Linked DNA regions of Homo sapiens: region 2 is linked to region 1. Evidence: promoter capture Hi-C in 16 types of primary human blood cells and fetal thymus (Javierre and others, 2016). All regions are on one chromosome and are shown on one strand. Each heading gives the region's core, a stretch centred on a gene start or on the middle of the fragment in contact. The rest is flanking DNA. Distances are from core to core; before and after follow the strand shown. Region 1 holds the start of ASPRV1 (aspartic peptidase retroviral like 1). Region 2 overlaps PCBP1-AS1 (PCBP1 antisense RNA 1).

Region 1 (6,050 bases), core at 3,323-5,822:
GGGGGCCAACAATGTTCTTGTTGGGATAATTGGAACCATTGGAGTAAGATCTGAAGATCAGATGATAGTGGTATTACATCAGTGAACTTCCTGATTTTGATAACTGCATCATGGTTATATAAGAGAATGCCCTTGTTGTTGTTGTTGTTTTCCCCTAGGAAATATACACTGAAGTATTTAGAGATAAAAGTGCATCATATTTGCGATTTTCAAAGGTTCCTATATATATAGATAGGAGAAAAGGAATGAGAATGAGAGAGATGATGAAGTTAATTGGAAAAATGCTAATATTTGGGGAAACTGGGTGAAACGTGGAAATTCTTTGTACTGCTCTTGCAACTTTCCTGTTAGTCTCAAATTAAGACTTAAAGATTTTCTGGATAAAAGCATAAAGAATTATCTAGTATGGTCTGGGGAACTGGCATGCATTCAGTTTGTGGTGGTCATTATTAGAGAAGAAGGCAGCTTGTAGGGCCCCCTTAACTAGAGGTATTAGAATGTTCTAGGCCAGGGCTTTTCAAACTCTTATGTCCCCTAGAATCACTTGGGGATCTTGCTCACTGCAGATTCTGGCGCTGGTCTGGGTGGGGATGGAGAGTCTGTATTCCCAACAGGCTCGCAGGTGATGCTGATGCCGCCTTCCTGCTGGTTCATGGATCACCCTTTGGGCAGTACAGGGGTAGATGCCACTGGAATTTAGACCATGGGTTCCCAAGCCTGCTGCACTTTGGGACCACTGGAGGAACTGATGTTCATGGGTCTTCTCTGGTGATTATCATGTGCTCCAAAGGCTAAACCTTCACACTGATCCTGCATCCTCCTTTCCATCATTGCAAAAGCAGACCTTAGGTATAAGGACTGCCATGGTGTCCCAGCAGAGCCTTTGCTGCTGCTTTACTCCATCCTATACCCAGAAGGCAGATGAATCTTCCTGCTCTCCCATGGTTCAAACGCCCACTGTGGGAGGCAGGTGTGAACTCCTCACCCAGACAGCAAGCCCTCTGTGGTGTGGCCACAACCCACTTTTTCTGGCTTCTCTCCCGGGCTTCTCTGTTGTTTGATACCTGACTTCCCAGAGAGCAGCTGCTCATAGTCCTGCAGCTGGGTTCCACGTTGACGCATCTGCAGCTGTGATCACTCTCACCCGCATGCAGCAGCGGTCTCAGCCTCACTCGGGTCTCCCAGTAAGAAGCACCACATGGTCCCTTCCTCCATGGGGGCCATGCTTCAGATGTCACAGACCCCACCCCTCACTGTGCCCTCTCGGGGGGCCCACATTTCTCTAGGAGAGAAAACTGGCTGAGAGCTGGAGACCTGGGGGCTCAGACAGGCTCTCCTCACTCAGAGCAGGGGAAGAAGGTGTCTGCTGCTGGGACACAGCATCCCATTTGCAATCACCCAGGACAGGGCTCCACTCCGTGTGGTGTGTGGGAAAGGGCAGGGAGGCTGGGGTATTGCTCTGGAATTCTGGCCTGGCCACCAATTCCTTAGTCCCCTCCCCAGCTCCCCACCCACCCACTTACAGACTCTTTACCCTCCCTCCTTCTACCCAGCACGTGGCTGGGATCCAAAGGACCTGGAGGAAAATAAGTCACAGGGAGGTGCCACCTGGATTGTTCCCTCGGGAGAGGGCTCGGCCCATGAGAGAGCAGCATGCGTTAGGCCACAGAGAGTGGGGCTGAAAATCAAATTTGAGAAGGGGGATGCAGGATCTGGGAGTCATCCGGAGACCACCCTTTCTCCAGTTCCCCCATCGCCTTCTCCAGTTCTCTCACCCCCTTCTCCAGTTCTCCCACCCACTTCTCTAGGCATCACTTTTCTGGAAATAGATTTCCTCCTGATCCCACACCTGTCCTTCCTCCAGGTGCCCTGGGGCTGATGGAGCTAATTTCAGTTAAGATGCTTGGCTGCCCAGGGAAGGGGCCTCGGTAAACCCCGAGGATTAGGGGCTGAGCCATGCCTCAGTTCCCAGGAGAATCACAGCTGGAATCGGAGGGAAGAAGGGGCCAGGGACGGGCAGCTGATCCTGGCTCAGATCAGCTTCAAAAAGTCCAGGGGCTTCACTCCTGCCTTCTGTCTCTCCCTCAGGAGCTGTCCAGGTGGGAACTTCAAGAGGCTCATTCCACCCTGGAGGATGGAAAATGGTCCTTCATGCCTCCATCAAGAGGTCTGGGATCCCTGCACGTTCGAGTCTCTGACCTTGCGCCAATCTTCCTGGGCCCAAAGTTTGGAGGGTGCAGGCCACCCTCCCCTGAGAACAGGCTCGCCCGATGTGCTTGGTGGGGAGGCCTGAGATTTGGAACAAACTGGCTCTTCTGTGGAGACTTTTGTCCACTCAGCTCCTCCCTTTGAGTTTCAGATTCCCAGCCCTGCTGCACTCCAGAAAAAGAAACAGAAATTTGGAAGCAAATACGAGATGGACCCCTAAAAGAGATGCACACCCCATTCCCAGATCTGGGAATGTCCTCCCCTCCATCAGGTCATCTAGTTTCAGGCTCTGTTCCAAGTCCCTCCAAGAAGAAGCTGACCTCCCACCGCCGGGACCCTGCCTTGCCACAGCCTCCCCCGTCCTCCAGCATGCCCTTGGGCTGCCCCACACAGGTCAACACTTGTCTCCTGGCCCTGCTTTCTGCCTCCAAGTTCTCGCTCCTGGACAGCTGTAAGAACCTATTTGCCCAGCAGACACTTTCCTGTTTGTTTATCATAACCATAATTTCCCAATCCCCAATCAAGACATCTCACATAAAACTTTAGGGTCACTTTTGGGTATAGAGGCAATTTGTATGCTAAAATACTACAGATTGAAATAAGTAGAGGAATTATGACGATTCAAAATAATGAGAGCAATTCTGGAGGGAATAAGTCAAAATATTTTATGCTGAGACTGTCTTAGAAAATCCAAGACCTGTCATCCCTGTGTATATGTTCTTATACCTCCAGCTAGGCACTCAGTAGACATGTGAATCTCCCTTGTCTTTGATGCTGACTCCCTCTCACATTCCTCTCATCCTCAATCAACACATTACATGGTTTTTCCATGAATCAATCTTTATTGGTGTTTGCAGCAATTGAATTATTGGCATAAGGCACAATGGGCTTCAAAGCAAATGACAGAAAGAAAATACGATTGTACAGGTGGAAAGGCTCTTCAGGGAGGTGTCCCAGAGCAACTGTGACCCTCACAAAGACCCTGCAGCTAGGACCCAGCCCAACTAAGACAGGCTTTGAGGACCTGAGAGTGACCAAGCCATACCTCAGGGAATCTGAAGGGGTCCCACAGTTCTTTCAAAGACAAGCATTTCTAGCTTCCTTGGGAGCTCTTCCAGCCTTTGAGTCTTTGTCATCAACAGCAGCTTGATGACCATGGGGACCCTGTCCCTCTAAGCCAGCCTGCTCTCCCTCACCTGTGCCTGTTCAGTGGAAGCCTCCCCTACCAGGGGCAGATTAAGGCCCCTGCAGAGGGAGGCAAAGGGGAGAGAAGAGCAAGAGTTGATAAGCAGACTGGCCAAGCCCAGTGACCCCCATGAGGATATGCAACCCCCCCCACAGCGGTGGGTCTTCCCACCAATATTTAGGAGGTTAAAGAAAAGGTGGCTTCTCAGTGGGATAGCTCCTGCCGCCCTTCTTCTGAGGAGGGGTCCTCCTCTATGAGCTCCAGGTCAAACTCATCTTCCAGGGACCCTCCCACAGGCAGAAGGCGAAACTTCTTCCCTTTCAGGGTGCATGTGCGGTGCTCAAAGTCCAGGATAGCATTGTGGTCCTGGAGCACATCAGTGCCAATGATGGCTTCCTCGGCACTCGCATTGGCCACTAGGAACTGTGCCTTCAGCTTCAGCTTGCCTAGGGACACCGCTGTATCCCAGACACCCAGGATCTTCATTTCAGCACCATTGGCCACCTTTACCACATTCTCAAAGGGCTGCAGGGTGTCCAGATCGCCATCAGTGACCTCCTCCCACAAGTTTGGGTGGACCACAGAGACCTGGGCCCCAGAGTCCACCAGGAACCTCACGGGCACTTTGCCAATCTTCCCCTTGAGATAGTAGCCCTTACCCATGCTGTTGGCAAAGACGATCTCTTTGGGCAGGTGGCTGGGGGCAGCCCCAGGGACCCCAAAGGCCTTCAGGAGGGCCTCTTTCACAGTCCCATAGTCTCCCTGGTCCTGGGGACTGAGCCTATTGTAGACACCCAGGGCCTCTCCTCTGAGGGACTCTTTCAGGAACCTTAGCTTGGTGATATGGTCCCAATGGTTGAGGTCATTGATGACTTCAAAGCTGTGCAGCCAGAGGTTTGGGACGACATTGGCCCCATCAAAAGGTTCCGGGACGAAGGCATGCTGCCGGCGGCCTTCCTCACTCCTGGCTCCGCTCCCGGCCATCCTGCTGCTCTCCTCTGGAACCTCAGCAGCAACCCACGCCAAGAAGAGAAACCCACAGAGCAGTGTCGGCGCAATCACGCTGGAAAACGGGGCCTCTCGAAGCAGAGTGGGGATGACTTGCCCGGCCTTGGGCAAGCAGGAGGGAGCAGGCGCGGTCGGCTGGCTGACTGCTGGGGCAGAGGCAGGCAGTGCTGTGGCCTGTTCACTCTGCAGAGCCTTTTTGATGCCTAGGCTGGCCCCTGGGCTCCCCATTCTCCTTTGTTCTGGAAGCTCCGCCCCTCCTCACCCCGCCCTCCTGCCAGCATCCGGCCGGACTAGCAGGATGGGTGCCTCACCCTCTGCATCCATCCTTGGACCAACACCAGCCAGCCCACATCCCAAGAAAGGCCAGCCTCTGTTGAAGGGGGACTACCCTGTACCCTCCCTGGCCTGTGTTCCAGAATAACAGATGAGGACACGGAGGATGTGATGACATTCAGGTATTTGTCATCAGCCAGTGAAGGAAGGGGAGGCAGGGACCAGACGCCCATCAGCTCAGAGACCGGGGAAGCCGCCATTGGCCTCCCCAACAAGTGACTACTTTGAGTGGTCAAAGGAAAACAGTTTACATGTACTGAGCTCCTACCACATGCCAGGCACTGGGAAGTGTCTCACACACATTCTAAAGCAGGTATGGGATCCTATGGGATTTCCTGGAGAGGGAGGCAGAGGAGGGTTCCAGCATAAAGAATGCACAGAAATGGTCTTTTTTAAGTGAGTGAGGACACACACACACACACACACACACACACACACGTGCACAATCATCTTACATGGACTCAACTGCTGCAGTAATTTTCCTTCATTGATCACCCCTGATTCAGAGGCAGAGGGGTGGCCAAGCAACTCTGGGTAGGCCCCATACTGCACTCCATGAGCATTGTCTCCACCCTATCCACCCCTCTCCATTTCCAGGAACTGTTCCAGGGCCCCTTCCCCAGGCACTGCAGCACTTCCTCTCCCACTCCCCAAGCTGGTCATTTGTGGAAAGATCACGGGAAATTTCACTCCCTTTTCATTCTGAGAGGGAAAATGTCCACTATGTTGGTGATGCCAGTGGTGAGGACCTGGAGGGCTCTGGCTCTGTGCCCCTCGCTGCAGGGGTAAAGGGTAGCACGGGAGGACATCCAGTCGTCTACAGAGGACATCTGTGAGTCCAAGGGCTGGAGGCCTGACTTGGGGCTGTGCAGGGGCTGTTGAAGGGATCCACTTTTATGTCCCCATTCAAAGGTCACTCCATGGAGCCTTCTGCCTGTCCCTAGAAAGGGCACCCACTCCTCGTTGAGCGTGTTTTACGGTGTGATCTGGTGGTTTGTTCACAAGTCTGCCTCTTGCTATGAACCAGAGTCTGGGGCTCACAAACCTGGCATTTGTGATTGTCTCCAGCCCCCAGAACAACTTCCTCTGGGACCCAGGGGCTCTTTGCTGGGCTCCAGGCCTAGCTGTGTGCTGTCACCAAACAGGAGTGATTAAGGATGGGAGAGGAGGAAGACTCGATGGCACACCTGTGGCTCTGGGGCTGTTTTTCCTGGCCAAGAGCCTGTCCCTCTTCAGCTCCCTATGCCATGCATCACCCAGTGCCTGGCGGAATCCCAGCAGTACCCTGCCTTTGGACAGTCCTGCCTCTGGATGG
Region 2 (6,533 bases), core at 2,156-4,655, 36 kb after region 1:
GCAGTGGCTTATGCCTGTAATCCCAGCACTTTGGGAGGCCGAGGAGGGCGGATCATGAGGTCAGGAGATCAAGACCATCCTGGCTAACACGGTGAAACCCTGTCTCTATTAAAAATACAAAAAAAAAAATTAGCTGGGCGTGGTGGCAGGCACCTGTAGTCCCAGCTACTCAGGAGGCTGAGGCAGGAAAATGGCGTGAACCTGGAAGGCGGAGCTTGCAGTGAGCCGAGATCGCGCCGCTGCACTCCGGCCTGGGTGACAGAGCGAGACTCCGTCTCAAAAAATAAATAAATAAATTAATTAATTAATTAATTAAACAGAATAATATCCAAGCACATCACATGTAGTCAGGGTGAATATTGTTTTGACAAAACTTTTGCGGCCGGGTGCAGTGGCTCACACCTGTAATCCCAGCACTTTGGGAGGCCGAGGCAGGCAGATCACGAGGTCAGGAGATCGAGACCATCCTGGCTAACACAGTGAAACCCCGTCTGTACTAAAAATACAAAAAAAAAATTAGCCAGGCGTGGTGACGGGCACCTGTAGTCCCAGCTACTCGGGAGGCTGAGGCAGAAGAATGGTGCGAACCCGGGAGGCGGAGCTTGCAGTGAGCCAAGATCACGCCACTGCACTCCAGCCTGGGTGACAGAGCAAGACTCTGCCTCAAAAAAAAAAAAAAAAAACTTTTGCTTCAGTGCTATGTATCCATACATTGAGGTGTGTCCTGCTTGGGACAGGAGATATCTTTCTCACCATAAGCAGTGGTCGAAGAAGTCAGAAATACAGTGGTTACACTCACATCCATCCTGCAGTTGATCTTCCTAAGACCCATCCCTGCCACCTTACCCTCAGTTGGGAAGCCAAATGGAATTTGTTCAGGGCCCTAGAACTAGCCTCACCTGGAAGGGACAGAGGAGTCTGGGAAGCCTTCTTGGAGGAGGTGGGGCTTGCTGTGGTGGGAGCAGGAAGAGGGACACAGGGCAGAAGGGAGGGCAGGGGCAATTGTCCCAAGGTGGGAAGAGCAGGAAGAAGGAAGCCTGGAGAGGCCTGGGAGGGGCAGTACTAGACACCGCCTTCTCATGCAGGCAGAATGAGGGCTGAGGCCAGCGTTAGGGGGAGAAAGAAAGCCCATTTGGTTTCGATGTGGAAACAGCCAAGTAATCTTCTACTTGATGCCTGCTTTTGCAGATGGTTGGAATCATCCTTAGTTAAGAACCAAGGCCTCCTCCTCCTTTATTCCAAATCTCTTTGGGGAGCACTTGGTAGTGGAGCAGTCAGGTGGGGTATCAGCATAACATCCCTAGCTCTCACCAACCCAGAGAATACAACTTCATAGTGCCTGTTTTCCTTTTTTCAGTTTAAATTACAATTTTAAGGTGGGGTGTCGAGGTTCACCCCTGTAATCCCAGCACTTTGGGATGCCAAGGGAGGATCGCTTGAGCCCAGGAGTTTGAGACCAGCCTGGGCAATATAGGGAGACCCCCATCTCTCAAAAAAAAAAAAAAAAAAAAAAAAACAATTAGCTGGGTGTGGTGGCACACACCTGTGGTCCCAGCTACTTGGGAGGCTGAGGTGGGAGAATTATGTGAGCCCAGGAGGTCAAAGCTGCAATGAGCCATGATCACAGCACTGCACTCCAGCGTGGGTGACAGAGTAAGACCTTGTCTCAAAAAAAAAATTCAATTTTAATTCATTAAAATGAAAAAATCCAGTTCCTCAGTCACACTGGACACATCTCAAATGTTCAATAGCCACATGTGGCCAGTAGCTACTTCATGGAACAGCACAGAGAACATTACTATCATCATGGTAAATTCTAGTGGGCAGTGATGTTCCAGAACAACAAAATGAATAATTTATTCATTCCTTCAGGAATGCAACGTCTTTCATTACTTCTATGACACCTGAAATTCTAAATGCAAATGCTTCTGAGAGAGGCACTGGAATGACTTAAGTTCTTACCAAATAGTAACTGGTTGATGTCAAGGGTCCAAAGAAAGCCACCATCTACGGAAACCATCTACCTGAGGCTGAGTCTGTGTGACACATGGGGGCTGCAGGGATGTCGGACGGTCAGATACTGTCCCTAACCGGAGGTGCTGTCTGAGAATGCTGATGGATAAGGGTTAAGCACCTCTGTCAAGGAGTGTGGAAAATTCTGTGACCTGTAAAGAAAGAAAATGACCCAAAGTTATTATTCATCTTCAGATGAGGGGACAGTTTATTTTCCAACAGTCCTCAGCAGGGGTTATTGCATGAGAAACAAGCTCTTCTCTATTTCTAGGTAAGGCAGAATAAGAAGTGGACACACAAGGAGGCTGGGTGTGGGGCTCACGCCTATAGTTCCAACACTTTGAGAAGTTAAGGCAGGAGGATGGCTTAAGCCCAGAAGTTGAAAGCTACAGTGAGCTATGATCGCACCACTGCACTCTAGCCTGGGTGACAGAGCAAGACCCAGTCTATTAAAAAAAAAAAAAAAAAATGGACGCAGGCCTTTGCAGAGGAGGATGCTTGTGAACTTGGCCCTCCTCTGCCCTCTACATTTTACTCAATGACCAAGCCCATGGCTTTATCCATCTCCTCCGCACCAACATCTCCCAGAACCATAGTACCGACCTAGGCCTAGAGATCTAAATACTGACTTATCCTCACCAGGAGCCCAGAAGGAATTGTCACAATCTCTGTGCCCTGCCCCCACCACTTCTCTTCCTGTAGTCCCTACCCTGGCTCATCCTCCACCACACTTGTCCAAGTCAGCACCTGTGAGTCACCCCGGGCTTCTCCTCCTTCCTCCCTCCCCTGTGCAAAGTCACCATGTCTTGGCCACCTCTCCTGTCTGCCTCAAGTCAGCTCTGCTCTCCTCCTCGCCAGCCCTGCCCCAGCTGCGTCCTCCTCCTGCCACACCTGCTCTCTGGCAGGGGCCGCCTGCTGGCTTCCCTGCTTCCAGTCATGGCCACCTCCAGCCCGATGGCACTGAACCACAGATGAGCAACAGAATGACCTGGGGAGGCATTTAAAATCTAGATCCTGACTCAGTTGATCTGGCCGGGTCAAGCATGTGTATTTTTGCAAAAGTGCCCCAGGTGATTCTGACACATACTCCTAGTTAAGAACCACGGTTACGGCCGCCTCTTCCTCATCGTTATTAATAACAAGAGAAACAACAATTGACATTTTTTGTGCACTTACGTGCACTGCCTCATGTAATCTTCATGACAATGCTATGAGACAGGAGCTGTATTCTACTCCCATTTTACAGTTGTTGAAACTGAGGCATAGAAAGTCTCAGGGCTAGTGAGGGGCAGGACCAGCTCATGACCAGCCTGACTTCTAACCGCTGTGCTCTCCATACCCCTTTATAAAGCCGAAATTCATATGTGGCTCCCCTCCTCACACCATTTCCTGATAGTTCTAGAAAAAAAAAAAAAGCAGTGTGGGGACACATTTATGATTTCCCTCTCCACCCAACCTCCCACCAATAGCTTCTTAACGCTAAAAGAAGTCTCTTGATCAGGGTAGTGGGGACATAGTGAATACCTATGTAAAAATTCACTGAGATGTATGCTTAGGATTTGTGACTTTATGTTTGTCATTCCCCAATAAGAAAAGATCCTTTAAAAAGTCACTTAAAAAAAAAAAGAACCTAGCAAATCTGAAACAGAGAAAAATATGCATCTGCTAAAGAAACTGGGGAAAGGCCATAAAAATGCCAGCAACTGTGAAGAATTCTTTCTGGTGCCGGGCGCAGTGGCTCACGCCTGTAATCCCAGCACTTTGGGAGGCTGAGGCGGGTGGATCACGAGGTCAGATCGAGACCACGGTGAAACCCCGTCTCTACTAAAAATACAAAAAAAAATTAGCCGGGCACGGTGGTGGGCGCCTGTAGTCCCAGCTACTCAGGAGGCTGAGGCAGGAGAATGGCGTGAACCCGGGAGGCGGATCTTGCAGTGAGCAGAGATCACGCCACTGCACTCCAGCCTGGGTGACAGAGCAAGACTCCGTCTCAAAAAAAAAAAAAAAAGATTTCTTTCTGGCAATAACACAGGTAAGAACAGGCTAGGAAAAGATCCCCAGAGCTAACCCGCAGGAAATGCTCGAAAGAAACCAGGCTGGGAGAGGGCACTGGCTAGAGGCAGGGCTCCGGGCATGACTGACAGGAAACCCCAACACAGTGGGCTTGATGGCAGTCAGCAGTCGGGCACAGGCCAAGAGCCATAGCAGTAACAGCAGCAGCGACACAGGGACTCTGAGGGCCCACAGGACTGTCTCTGGGCCAGGGACTGGGGGCTGCCCCAGGTGGAGGTCAATGACAGTGAGTTAACTCCTTAACTTTCACAATTCACAAAAATACTACAGATTCCATCTAGATTAATATTTATTTTATTTTTTGGAAACAGGGTTTCACTACGTAGCCCAGGCTGGAGTGCAGTGGCTAGTCACAGGTGCAATCGCAACGCACTACAGCCTTCAGCTCCTAGGCCTGAGCATTCCTCCTGCCTCCGCCTCCCAGGTAGCTGGGACTCCAGGTGCACACCACTGTGCCCAGCTAGATTAAGATTCAAATTAAAAAAAAAAACTCACTAAAATATTGAGATAATTTGTGTGAATATATTAATATAAATTCTGCAGCGGAAGTATTCCTGAAACTGATATAAAGACAGAAACAATGCCTATAATCCCAGTATTTTGGGAGGCCAAGGAGGGCAGATCACTTGAGCTCAGGAGTTCAACACAAGACTGGCCAACATGGTGAAACCTAGTCTCTACTACAAAAATACAAAAACTAGCCGGTGTGGTGGGGGCATGCCTGTAATCCTGGCTACTCGGCAGGCTAAGGCAGGATAATCACTTGAACACAGGAGGCAGAGGTTTCAGTGAGCTGAAATCGTGCCACTGCACTCCAGCCTGAGTGACAGAGCAAGACTCTGTCTCAAAAAAAAAAAAAAAAAAAAAAAGACAGAAACCAGCCCAGTCCTAGTGATCCAAATACCAGTGACTTATCTGGCCAGGAGCCTCCACACAACAATCCCAAAGGGAATTGTCACGATCTCTGCACCCCACCCCCACCACTCCCCTTCCTACAGTCCCAATCCTGGCTCATCCTCTACCTGCTCACACCCTGCCCTCCTCCGGGTCAGCACCTGTGAGTCACCCCGGGCTCCTCCTCCTTCCTCCCTCTCCCACCCAAGGTCACCACATCTTGGTCCCCTCTCTCATCTGCCTTGAGTTGGCCCCGCTCGCCTCCTCTCTAGCCCTGCCCCACCTTCGGCCTCATCCTGCCACATCTGCACTCTGGCAGGAGCCGCCTCCCTGCTGGCCTCCCTGCTTCGAGTCATGGCCACCTCTAGCCTCATGGTTTGGAAAGCCTATACAGACTACCTTGATTACATGGATATTTTAGATTCATGAATGCTTTAAAAATGAACAAGACTAAATGACAAGTGATAATCTAGGATAAAATATTTGTAATATATGAGAATTGGGCAAGGTGGCTCACACCTGTAATCCCAGCTACTGGGCAGGCTAAGGCAGGAGTATTACTTGAGGCCAGATGTTTGAGGCCAGCCTCGGCAACATAGTGAAACCCTCATCTCCAAAAAAAAAAAAAAAAACCACACACACACACACACACACACGTAATATATGACAGACAAGGAGTTAATAGCCTGAATACATCTTTAAAATAAATAAGAAAAAAATAATATACCACACTAAATAATAATAATAAACTACACAAATGAAGTGGGAAAAATGGAGAAATATATCAATAGAAAACAGAAAACTGACTGGGCTCGGTGGCTCACGCCTGTAATCCCAACACTTTGGGAGGCCGAGGTGGGCGGATTGCTTGGGCTCAGGAACTTGAGACCAGCCTGGCCAACACGGCAAAACCCTGTCTCTACTTAAAATACAAAAACTAGCTGGCTATGGTGGCATGCGCCTATAGTCCCAGTTACTTGGGAAGCTGAGGTGGGGGATCACCTGAGCCCAGGAGGTTGAGGCTGCAGTGAGCTGTGATCACGCCACTGCACTCCAGCCTGGGCAACAGAGCAAGACCCTGCCTCAAAAAAAAAAAAAAAAAAAAAAAAAAAAAGAAAGAAAAAGAAAAGAAAACTAGATAAAGCACATAAGCAGATAATTCATCAGAAAGAATTACCAACGGCTGGCCTGTAAAAGAGTCCAAGTAATAAAAAGAGAAAAGGAAAAGGAAAGCAAACTAAAGCAACAATGATATACTATTTGTTTTTGCTTATCAAATTTGCAAAATTTTCAAAAATGCTAATCCCCAGTGTTGGGAAGGACATAGTGAAGGAGGCACTCTCATAGGATTGGTGACAAGAGCCTAAGTTGATACATCCTTCCTGGAAGGCAATTTGACAATATGTACCAAATCCTTGAAAGTGTGCATACTCCTTGATCTACTCTATTTAACTTTTTAAATTAAAAAAAAAAAATTAAAGTATTGAGATAGTTTGTTTGAATATATTAATATAAACTCTGTAGCAGAAGTCTTTCTGAAACTGACATAAAGA

The links. Contacts are between HindIII fragments. The CHiCAGO score rates a contact against its expected background, and 5 or more counts as called.
Region 2: a fragment that was not itself captured here is called in contact with the fragment with the promoter of ASPRV1 in region 1 in 1 of 17 cell types (neutrophils); the score reaches 5.3 in neutrophils.

What each region holds. Positions count from the first base shown.
Region 1 is chr2:69,957,059-69,963,108 of GRCh38, forward strand. ASPRV1 (aspartic peptidase retroviral like 1) reads right to left here and starts at 4,573. Exons shown (of 1, transcript NM_152792.4): 1 at 3,031-4,573. The coding sequence starts at 4,378. The coding sequence ends at 3,599. It overlaps PCBP1-AS1 (PCBP1 antisense RNA 1), which reads right to left. Exons shown (of 11, transcript NR_033872.1): 11 at 5,205-6,050. RefSeq lists a silencer at 4,459-4,753. The HindIII fragment of the contact is 12,271 bases long and covers 1-6,050 here.
Region 2 is chr2:69,994,724-70,001,256 of GRCh38, forward strand. It overlaps PCBP1-AS1 (PCBP1 antisense RNA 1), which reads right to left. Exons shown (of 11, transcript NR_033872.1): 8 at 1,963-2,165. It also overlaps a transcript of ASPRV1 not described here. Among named protein-coding and RNA genes, the nearest start is that of ASPRV1, 36 kb to the left of the region's middle. RefSeq lists a silencer at 2,725-2,979. The HindIII fragment of the contact is 8,346 bases long and covers 1-6,533 here.